Regions from separate parts of the Homo sapiens genome. Here regions 1, 2 and 3 are each linked to region 4. The links are contacts of gene promoters, found by promoter capture Hi-C in human tissues and cell types (Jung and others, 2019). All regions are on one chromosome and are shown on one strand. The core of a region is centred on a gene start or on the middle of the fragment in contact, and the rest is flanking DNA. Distances in the headings are between cores, read along the strand shown.

Region 1 (2,700 bases), core at 107-2,606, 1.8 Mb before region 4:
GTGAAAAATAAACTTAGCCAAATCTCATGTGAGGATTAAAAAAAGCGATGTCCCAGATAAGTCAATGTGACACTAAAGATCTAAACAATTTTTTTTAACTTTTAAGTTTTTTATCAAATTTCAGCACCCAGCAAATAATAGGCACTGTTAATATTTGCTTAATATAACGTAGCTGTGAATTTTTGCCCACATTTAGGCGGACGGGAAAATTAACGCCAGAATATCCCGAAAGTCAAATTTTGTCATCTTACACTTAGGAAGTTACGTTAAAAAATTCTCAAGTCTCGTAGTATTTTTCTTAAGCGCAATTTGGGAATTTCCAGTTACCTCGTGGTTTCCGTCATCAGGTTCTTGGCAAAGATTGCAATACAGTAGTTTTAGAACTATATTAACTAGGTATTCCATTAACTAGGTAAAAACCACTCGACTGACCTCGTGGTCAAATTCCTTACTAGTGCTGCTACTGACTTAATATGACCCTAGCAACCAACACTTTTCTGCCTCAGTTTCCGTCTGAGAAAGAGAGTTAATACCTACCTCAAGCAAAGTTCCACTAACTTATATATTTCAAGTGTTTTGTAACCTGCAGATGAAAAGTCAGCTGTAAATATTAATATAGTTATATCACAATATTTCCTTTTACAAATGTAAGTGAAAATAACTACTTCGAGCTCCATCATTTGCTCATAGAGAGAAATAAAATAAAAAGTTATCAGTAAAATGCTGAATCTTTTGTTAAACCTTTCTCGTAGGCCACGCGGCACGATCCAGGATTTAAAGGCTCGCGATACATCTACTTGGTAACCTTCCCCCTTCCCCTCCCCCACTTTTTACATGTAAGAAGAACGGAGGTAATAGAAGGCATCGGCGCTACGTTAACTTCGACTATATTAATGAGCATCACGATCTTCATTTTCATGATCCCGTAGTCCTCGCGGTCGTAGAAAATGAAAGGAAAGCAGCCGTTAACACAGGAAGAGCGAAAAAAGGACATTTTCCCTGGCGATCGTGGCCTAGAGGACACCAGGTTAAACCTATACAGAGGCTGAGGCCTATAAAACTGCCCCCGGCTTCAACCTAATCCCCCAAAACAAGCAGAATAAATGAGGGCCCGGTTAGTTAGGGGGAAGGATTCCCACATCTTCTCTCCCACACCCCCTCTCGCTTCCCGAAAAACCCAGCGCCTTCCCTGCGTCCGCCCTCTCCACTTACCAAGAAGGGGAGGGAGAAGAGATTCGATTCTGAGTCTCCTACTCCCGGGTTCTGCGTAGAGAAGCCGACTGCTGCTGGAGGTCGGCAACGCGGCCACAACCGCTCAGTCTTCGTCTCTTCACAAAATGGCCCCCGAGTCTCCTCTGCCGCCGAGGCGAAGGCCTAGTCCCCGCCCCATTCCTGAGAATCTTCCTATTGGCTGTGCGTTTTTTCGCTCCCGCTCCTAATTAGACAGTTCAACCGCTCCTCACAATGATATCCAATCACAATTAGCAGTGGGTTAGACTAAGCAGGCGAATTTCCACATGCGTGAGAGAAACTAGTTTATAACTGGTTAGTTTTCCTGTCATTTATTGCCTGGAGAATGCTTATTGGCTATTGCACGGGACGACCCTCTGGGTGGAAACTCGCCTTTGTATCGCGCACCGTCTCACATCCGGGTATCTGGGAGGCCTGATTGGCGGCCGCGGCGTCCTATCGCTGCCCCTTAGAGTGCCTAGTAGAAGATCCGCCCAGACCTCGGATTTCCGGCTGCGCGGGGGCGGGGAAAGGGTTGAGGGGCGTAGTTAGGTGACGGGCGCAAAAGACCTGCCCCAGCCCCGGGCCTAGGGAAAAAAAAGCGCGAAATGAAGCCTCCGTTGTGCAATGTGAATAAAGAAAGGACTTTTCTTAAAATGAGGAGGGAGCAGCAGTGACTAGGCCTTGTTAAAGTGTGTAGAAAACTAACCAGTCCTGCAGTTTTTCCAACCCCAGACCCTTTCTCAGTTCCAGATTCGAATGTCAGCTACCTCGTAGACATCTGCTTCTTGGCCTATTAAACCCTTCTTCAGACAACACATGTTCCATCGAAACCAACTGACTTCCTTATTCCTCTCCAATATAAAAAGGAAGTGCAGAATCCTGGCCTCTGGCCCCAGGGCATCTAATATCTTAAGTGCCAGCAAAATTGGCCCATCCTTCCAAATCTGGTCCCTTAATTTCCCTCCTCTTGAAATGGCTTGTCTCCTACCTACCCCCGTCACCTGCCAGTCTCTCTGGTTACATTATAGGAACTGCGCACGCAGTGGGGTAGCATCAGCTCTACTAAGCCAGCGGTTTCTTTTTTCTTTTCTTTTTTTTTTTTTTTTTTTTTTTTTTTTGAGGCAGAGTCACTGTCGCCCAGGCTGGAGTGCAGTGGCGCGATCTTGGCTCACTGCAACCTCCGCCTCCCGGGTTCAAGCGATTTTCCTGCCTCAGCCTCCTGAGTAGCTGGAACTACAGGTGCGCGCCACCATGTCCAGCTAATTTTTGTATTTTTAGTACAGATGGGGTTTCGCCATGTTGGCCAGACTGTTCAGGTGATCCGCCCGCCTCTGCCTCCCAAAGTGATAAGATTATAGGCGTGAGCCACCACGCCAGACCACTTTAAACTATTTTAAAAAGCAAAGACGAAAAATATGGGAGAAAGTATACACTAAAGTGTTAGTAGTGGTTCTCTCCTGGTGGGAA
Region 2 (2,700 bases), core at 94-2,593, 1.7 Mb before region 4:
ACACTGAGAGAAGCTGCAAAAAATCATTTGGTAGAAATTAATCAAAAAATTAAAAAAAATAAAATGTTCAGTATTCATCTAGCATTTAGTTCTTATTTTTCCTTTTCATAAAATGCAAGAGAATCAATTTTATTTTCAATTATCTAATGTATTTAGCCCCAAAAGATGAAACATGCACAGACAGCTTTAATATGAATGGCAAGGAAACGACCAATTTTAATGGCTTGGTTTTAGTAGATGACCAGTTTGAAAGATAATTTACAATGCTGAAATGAGAGCTGATCATTTTTCTCAAAACGTTTTTCAGGTTAAAAAAAAATCTTTATTAGCTGTATCTTCCCTTGATGACAGGGTTCAGGGGCAAGACTTAAGCTAGCCAACTCAGACTGCATCACAGAATGCAACCAAATGTTTGCTCAATTAGTAAGTTAACATCATAAAAATAAGTTTTAACTGTGGACGTTTTTAGAGCAGCAAAACTGCCGAATCTTTAAAAAACTGGGAACTGCCACAGCTCTTTTAATGAACACGTGCCCCGGATACGCTACCAAGGAACTAATAAGGTTTTAGGCATCGTTTTGTTTTGTTTTGTTATTACTAATGCCTGCAGGCTTTCAGCGTTAGGTCCCTCTCTGTAACCCACAGCAGGGCCTAGAACATGAGGCGGTTGCGCGTGAGCAGTATTTCTTTTTTTAACTCCAGCAAAAGCCCCGCAAACGATAAACGCTAAAAGCCCGATTGACATCCTCCTTGCCCTTCCATCTCTCCTTTACGAAGACGGTTATAATCCTGGCGGGACCAGGGGTGGAATATTGTGGTTCTGGAGGGACAGAGCGAGTGCGTGAGAACACGGCAGGGGAGGGCAGCAAGACGTGACCACGGAGTAGGAGGGAAGGATGTTGCCTCTTCTAGGGCGGGAAGAGACTGCGAGAGGTGCTGCTATGCATGACCAAGGCTGGCACGCGGGGAAGATGGTGATGGCCGCAGGACAGGGTGAATGCGGGGGATTCCCTGTTAAGGGGCAGCGTTCGTGGCCGCCTCCGGTGAATGATTCGGGAGCAACGAAAAGGGTGAGGCACAGAACCCGGGAATTCCTGACCGAAAGAGAAAAAAGGGCGCCGAGAAACAGGGTTATTATGGGATGGCTAAGGGGGCTCCCTAGGAAAAATTACAGGATCTTCCTCACCCGCCAATTGCTGTACAGTCTCTTCACTCGCCGATAATAAGCGTCTTTGTCCAGAGTCACAGCCATAGCCCCGGACGCCGCTTCTCCTCGGGTTCCGAGAATCACGCGAGGTCCCGGCTCAGCCACCCGCTCTCGGCCCAGGAATCCCGCACTCTCCCAATGACCCGGAAGTATCGACCTCAAAGATGCCCTTTCCGCTTCCGGGTCCCAACAGCGTTAGGTTTTTTTTTTGTTTGTTTGTTTGTTTTGTTTTTTTCCAACCCTCTTTCGGATGGACGGGGGAAAGAGAGAAAGAAAAACGAGGGAAAATCAACAAAATGTGCGATGCAAAGAGTCGATTTTCGCGGGGTTTGTCAACTTCGCCACTGCCGCACGCGAATCGACGTCGTCACGTGACGGTCTGCCTCCGCCCTTATTAACTCTCAGCCCAGCGGCGGTTTCCAGGACCTCAGACTTTTTGCCGAGGCGGCAGTCCCTAGACGAAGCGAAGGAGGCGGCGCCTGCCCCGCCCACAAGAGCTGCCGCGCGCGGGTGTTATAGCTCCACCCCATCTGCAAAGGAAGGGGGAGCGGAAAGAGCGGGATCTAGCGTGGGATAAAAGTGGGACTACTACAGTGTAACTGGGCATGCGCCCCTCCTAGAAATGATGGGAATGCAAAAGCCCTTGACTGCTCCAGGACTCGAGGGATCCTCGGTGCCAGGATGCTGGGTCAAGCGCTCCGCCGGGACAGAGGACTCATACCAGGGAAATGGAGCCCAGCCTCGTGATAAACTACGACCCAAGCTGGGGGAGGAACCTAGTTTTCGAAAGGAAAATAATATGCGCAAGCTTTAACTGAGCAGTGGGATGGTGTAAGTCAGAGGAAACAGATGACTTGAGGGGCTCTACAAACTTTTAGTTCCTTCCCACAACCCCACCCCCTGAGCCCAAGTCGCGGCAGCATCCTTCCAGTCGGCCAGTCCCCTTGCTGCAGTTCATGAAAACTGGCACTATTCTATGGCTTCCCCCAAATAACCGTTACTTCAGTTAATTAGAAACAAAACATAAATGGTTCCTGATGACATTCTTGCTCCCTGTCTCTTCTAAAAACTTGGAGTTTGAATCCAGAAGTTTGCCTACCTACCATTTACCTTAAATAATTCCCTTGCCTTTAGCCAGCTGGACAGTCTACATTTGTATATACCCTTTAGAGGAGTACAGATGACTTGTCTGCTGTAAGGCAATTTAGTATAAACAGTATTGAACTTAAGGAAAGTGGTGCTGAAATTACCCACCATTAACAACTCAAAATCAATACACTGGGTTTGAGCAAACATAGAACAAAGGAAGAGTGGAAAAGGATTAACTTAAATTTATTAATGCCAAGGGGAAAGAAGGTAACAGTTCCTGACCCTCCAGCTGTATCCACAGTTCGGCCAGGAACAGGCTCTGCCAGAGGCTAGGGCCAGCGCTACATAGTCTGTGGTTAATGGAGGTGACTAGGGAGGGGTGAGCACACCAGCTGCTCTAGTCT
Region 3 (2,700 bases), core at 26-2,525, 1.6 Mb before region 4:
TTGTTCTGAAACCTATTGGATGACCAATACAAAAGAAATTCCTAAGCAGAAGACACGATCTAATTAACTAACACAGGACACGATTCAAATCACAAACTCACTTTCGATATGTAATGTGCCCCACACCAGATGACTTCAGCATATGCTAACCTAGGCTGAGAATCCTTGACTGAGTCGACAAACTCAGAAAAGCATGGAGATGAAACGATCTGTAGACGCCGCTGTGATGGTAGGATGCAGCAGACACTGATAAGGCAGCTCCCCTGGCTTGTGTTTGGGGCGCTCCGCTGTTTATTCTTTAATAGAAAAAGACAGAGTTCTAAATCTTTGACTTCTGGCTCACTTTGCTTAGCCATACGAAAGAGATGGGTCCACTATATACCTTTTCTGTGAAGACCCTAACCGCTTCAAGACTGTCCCTTAAAAAGCAAGAGGCTGCTGCATTTATACAGCTGCTGCAGGGAAATTCCCTGCGACACTAGAGACAGGTAAATAAACTGCATTCGTTCCAAAGCAGGGGGAAGGGTCTTCTATCAGTGACGAGTTTACATAATGCAACGGAAAACCAGTGAGCTCTGCAGACCTGTCAAGGAGGATGCAAGGCTTGAGCTCCTCTCTTCCCACCATCTCTAAACATTCTCCAACAGCCTGCTCTTCACTGCCAGGAGACCCACAGAACTTACACCTGAGAATGAGTAACAATCTGCTTACGCTTACCCCATGCTTTCCTACCCACCTTTATTATTAAAATACAGAAGAAAAAAAAATAAAAAGAAGTAGAAAACCCTAACCACCTATTTCTGAATCCAAAGTATGGAGTAACCAAACGGGGCCGAGGAGTTTTCCCTTCTCTGAAGAGAGGAGAACAAGGCGCCGCCTCCAATCTACACTACGCCCAGTAATGCAATGACAAGCCCTGAAAACTCCACAGCGTCCCAAGCAGTCCCTCGCGGCTCGGCCCGGCTCGGACCCCGCGGCCCGGCAGCCACCCTCTCCCCCGGCCTCTCACAAAGGAGACTGGTTCAGTCCGGAGCATCACCCCGCACCTGATCCCTCACAACTGGGGGGCGAGCAGGGGGTGGAAGAGAGAGGAGAAGGAGTTACTTAAATCAAATCTCTGAGAGCCTCAGCTTTTGCTGACTCCTGGCCCAGCACTGAGGAGCGGGTGCGAGCGGGAAGCCTACCTGTGCAAGTCCTGGTACTTCCTTTCCAGGCAGCGTTTCAACTCACCCTCTCCGAGAACAAGGCGCCTTCCGGCGGAGCATGGCCAGCCCTCGCCTCAATCTAGCTTGCTAGTAGTCCATTCTCCCTAGGCTCCGCCCCCCTGCGCTCCCATCCGCCAATGGCAGCACCGAAGCCCGGCCTCTTCCAGCGAGCTAGTGTGAGCGCCATCCAGGAAGTCTCTTGAGGGTGGAAGGTCCTAGGAGGATGAGAAGGGTACGTAGGCGACCACAAATATGCCTGATTGAAAATAAAATCTGGCGGCGGCTCGCCTCTGACGACTCAGTTCACAGGCGGCCAGGCCCCTCGGCATCTTTTTTTGACCCCCGCCATTGGGGGCGCTGTGAACTAAAACAACACTTAGTTACCTACTTCTGGGAAGCCATCTTGGCTCGGACTCCGGGACTGGGTGAGAGTGCTTAAAGAATGTGAAGACCCTGTCGGTGTTCTGTCCGACTATCTAGGTCCAGCCCGAACATACTCTGCTGTATACACTTAGGAGGCCCCTCAGTCACGACGTGAAACCCTGGAGTAATGCCGTATGTGGTTACGGGCAACAACCACCACCACCCTCTCACTTAACTGTAGGAGTAAAGCAATTTTAACAAATCAAATAAGCAAAAATTAATTCTTCTAATGAGAGTGAAAGTTGCACTTTCCTAGGGTAATCCTTTATGGACACCTCACTCAAAATATCAGGACATGTATCTATTATAGGTGCTACTAAGCTTTAGGATTCACTGCAAATTTTCCAGTAGGGGCACTGTGAATCAGTTGGAAATCAAGAACAGGACTTAAGGAGGAATTCCTTTTTTTTTTTAAAGGCCTAATTTTTTTTTTTTTTTTTGAGATGGAGTCTCGCTCGGTCACCCAGGCTGGAGTGCAGTGGGGCGATCTCGGCTCACTGCAACCTCTGCCTCCCGGGTTCAAGCAATTCTCCTGTCTCAGCTTCCTGAGTAGCTGAGACTACAGGCTCCCGCCACCACGCCCAGCTAATTTTTGTATTTTTAGTAGAGACGGGGTTTCGCCATGTTGGTCAGGCTGGTTTCGAACTCCAGACCTCAAGTGATCCGCCCACCTCGGCCTCCCAAAGTGCTGGGATTACAGACATGAGCCACCATTCCTGGCCAAGAAATCTTTTTTAAAGTTGTGAGTGAGGGAATCCTTCCAGATTATTAAAGGAATTTCTCAAGGAGTAACATAATTGCATGGTCTTACATGATAGGAGCTCAGAGACATCAAGAAGTCATATGAGTGATAAGACTCGGCCTTAAGCTGGGCGCAGTGGCTCACGCCTGTAATCCCAGCACTTTGGGAGGCTGAGGCGGGTGGATCGCCTGAGGTCAGGAGTTCGAGAGCAGCCTGGCCAACATAGTGAAACCCCGTCTCTAGTAAAGATACAAAAAAAAATTAGCCGGGCGTGGTGGCAGACACCCATAATCCCAGCTACTCGGGAGGCTGAGGCAGGAGAATCGCTTG
Region 4 (2,700 bases), core at 42-2,541:
TCTTCTGCACTTTCGCCAAGTGCCCCTTCTAAATCTGATCATGCATGTAAAATTACTTAAAATACTCAAACCAGCCATGGGGCTCCTGGTTTTTGCCTGACGGAATTACTTGGTCAAAGGGTTACCCAGTACCAGGGTCAATTTGTATAATTTCCAGTACTGTGGCACCTAGATTTATCAAATTTATAAAATTTTCAAAGAGGAAGCTACAGAAGAAAATGACCACAGACCCTGTAAACTGTGGTCTAACCTAGTCTATCCACACAAACACACACACACAAACACACACACACAAAACTATCAGCTTCTGTATAAGCAACGGTCTGCCAACTCAACCCTGGAGCCAACCCAGACCTAATCTGCACTACCTGCCACGTATCCTGTTGAACTCTAATTAAAACCAAGACATCCTCATCTTCCCTTCTTTAAACCAAACCTATACACTTGAATCGAGCTACACCTACCTCATGACAATCCCACCTTAATCTACTCAAACCGATTCAAAATCCCCAATATATATCAACCTGCCTCGCCTCTCTCACCAATATTCACCAAACTCTTAACCACCCAAATTGCCACTAGATGCCACTAAATTAGAGACCTCTCTCTCATCAAGTCCCTTCAAATAAAGGTCTCTCTTCATCTCACCTCCTCATCTAATCGAGCAGACATTTTACCCTACCCCAGTCCTATTCGTGCAGATACCGATACCAACCCCATCCACCCCTTCGCGCAACTATACCCCTAACTCCGACCCAGCCCAACTCGCCCCCCTCAGGCCAGCAACGCCGTAGGTTGTAGTGGGATTTAACTCCTTCTGCAGCGCATGCGCCGAAACCACAGATACAAACAAGGAGGGGGTGGGGGAAGGAGGAAGGAGCTTAAGACACTCCTGGAGAGTAGTGCACACCCTCCCATTTGGGCTCGCGCTGCTGCCGTTAAGGCGGGAACCGGCGCGATCTCCATTCCAGCGCGAACCTCATCAACCACCGTGCGCGCGGATCCAGAGGCTCGCGCTGGCGGCCTGAGCGAGCTCGCGCCGAGCCCGGATACTGCGCCTGCGCCGCGGCAGAGGCTCGTCTCTACCGGGTCCGCTCTCCTCCGACACCCCAGCAACGCCGACTCCTCACCCCTTTGAGCCGCTTGACCAGGGCACTCTTCTGCCCGCTCTTGGCTAGGCCTCGCTGCTCCAGTGCGGCCTTCAGGTCGGTCACCCGCAGCGCCTGAAGAGGCTTCCCGTCCAGAGTCACCTCCTCCAGCTCCGCCATCTTGCGTGAGGTACTCGGGTCCGTCCCGACGGCTTCGGGCATCTTCGGTAATTTCCGCCAACGCCCTTCGAACGTACCGAGATGACCCCGCCCACTGCCATACTCTACCCCTCGATTACCACTCAGAACTCCCCGGGTTCCTCCGGATGTCCTCGGATGTTTCCGTCTCCACATCGTTACCAATCAATTCTTTCCATCCGCCCTGCAGCGCCCCTTTTCTCGCCCTGCTTTCAGGCTCGGTTTTCTTCGTCTTGCCGAAGCTTTGAATCGAATATATTCGGAAACCCTCGACCCTGGTATAACCATAATCGGAGATGTTCGTTTATTTCCGGACCTAGAGATGAGGCGCTGGGGCGCTTGGGTGTTTGGGGCGGGTCCGAGGCCGGAAGTGCGTGGGCTGCCGGGCTGGCCCAGCTTAGGGTTTTCAGGAAATTTGGAAGCTGCCGCAGTAGTTGGAGTCTAAGGACTCGTGACAATCTTCGGGTGCCCTTCGAGAGAAAAGGGGAGGTAAGCGGGGTAGAAGTACCTCTATGGGCCGGGTCAGACTCGGTGTTTGCGGATTACCTTAATAGGGCAAGCCCCCCACTCCTTAACGCAAACAGCTTCTGCCCTCTGTCCTCTGAATCATAGCCACTCCCATCTTAGGCTTTTTTTGGGGAGGGGCGGGGGGCTGGTGCGGAATCGGAATAACAAGCTCCGTGGGGGTGCGCAAGAAGCATCGCCGTGTCTTCGGACCCAGACTATGAACTGATCTATGACGCTGAACTTGAGTTTGAGTTTGCCTTGGAAGCCATGTGGCAAGATTCTGGGAAAGTTCTTCCTTGCTCCGCAGAAGAGAGTAAGTTCCCTTGGAGGAACTGCTTCCTGTAGGGCAAGAACTGGAAAATGCAAGCGCCCTGAACTTTTTTGGTACTTGAACTAATATTAATTGTTTAGGGGCTTCTTTCTTTGTCACTACCAATCCTCCAACTTGATGCAGAAGAAACACAAACAGTAAAATAGGTCACAGACAAATAGTTTAGAGATTTAAGAGATACGTTAGAGATTTAAGAGACTGAAAACTATTAAAGTCAAATTGGCTGATCTTTCCGTTGCATTCATGATGCAAAATCAGTGGCAAGGTGCCGGGCGCGGTGGCTTACGCCTATAATCCCAGCACTTTGGGAGGCCGAGGCGGGCGGATCACTTGAGGTCAGGAGTTGGAGACCAGTCTGGCCAATATGGTGAAACCCCGTCTCTACTAAAAATACAAACAAATTAGCCGGGCGTGGTGGCGTACGCCTATAGTCCCAGCTACTCGGGAGGCTGAGGCAGGAGAATCGCTTGAACCCAGGAAGCAGTGGTTGAGATCACGCCATTGCACTACAGCCTGGGTGACAGAGCAAGACTCCGTCTCAAAAAAAAAAAAAAAAAAAAAAAAAATTGCAAGGCA

What was found. Contacts are between HindIII fragments. The study calls those that stand out against the background at their distance.
Region 1: a contact is called between the fragment with the promoter of HNRNPC here and the fragment with the promoter of ACIN1 in region 4, in 1 of the 25 tissues and cell types used here (pancreas).
Region 2: a contact is called between the fragment with the promoter of SUPT16H here and the fragment with the promoter of ACIN1 in region 4, in 1 of the 25 tissues and cell types used here (hippocampus).
Region 3: the fragment with the promoter of CHD8 here is called in contact with the fragment with the promoter of ACIN1 in region 4 in 1 of the 25 tissues and cell types used here (hippocampus).

What each region holds. Positions count from the first base shown.
Region 1 is chr14:21,268,086-21,270,785 of GRCh38, forward strand. It overlaps HNRNPC (heterogeneous nuclear ribonucleoprotein C), which reads right to left and starts at 1,357. Exons shown (of 9, transcript NM_004500.4): 1 at 1,213-1,357. RefSeq lists enhancers at 836-1,460, 1,098-1,357, 1,461-2,086 and a silencer at 1,448-1,527. The HindIII fragment of the contact is 14,707 bases long and covers 1-2,700 here.
Region 2 is chr14:21,382,676-21,385,375 of GRCh38, forward strand. SUPT16H (SPT16 homolog, facilitates chromatin remodeling subunit) reads right to left here and starts at 1,344. Exons shown (of 26, transcript NM_007192.4): 1 at 1,187-1,344. The coding sequence starts at 1,252. CHD8 (chromodomain helicase DNA binding protein 8) reads right to left here. Exons shown (of 38, transcript NM_001170629.2): 38 at 2,524-2,700. It overlaps LOC107984643 (a long non-coding RNA gene), which reads left to right and starts at 1,598. Exons shown (of 2, transcript XR_001750627.2): 1 at 1,598-2,038. The HindIII fragment of the contact is 14,834 bases long and covers 1-2,700 here.
Region 3 is chr14:21,454,848-21,457,547 of GRCh38, forward strand. It overlaps CHD8 (chromodomain helicase DNA binding protein 8), which reads right to left and starts at 1,276. Exons shown (of 38, transcript NM_001170629.2): 1 at 1,185-1,276. LOC124903283 (a long non-coding RNA gene) reads left to right here and starts at 1,550. Exons shown (of 2, transcript XR_007064064.1): 1 at 1,550-1,630. RefSeq lists enhancers at 1,019-1,708, 1,573-2,124, 1,739-1,788, 1,799-1,848, 2,125-2,676. The HindIII fragment of the contact is 24,117 bases long and covers 1-2,700 here.
Region 4 is chr14:23,093,845-23,096,544 of GRCh38, forward strand. It overlaps ACIN1 (apoptotic chromatin condensation inducer 1), which reads right to left and starts at 1,292. Exons shown (of 19, transcript NM_001386863.1): 1 at 1,131-1,292. The coding sequence starts at 1,268. C14orf119 (chromosome 14 open reading frame 119) reads left to right here and starts at 1,661. Exons shown (of 2, transcript NM_017924.4): 1 at 1,661-1,775. RefSeq lists enhancers at 1,033-1,342, 1,048-1,571, 1,383-1,462, 1,483-1,692, 1,572-2,095. The HindIII fragment of the contact is 4,223 bases long and covers 41-2,700 here.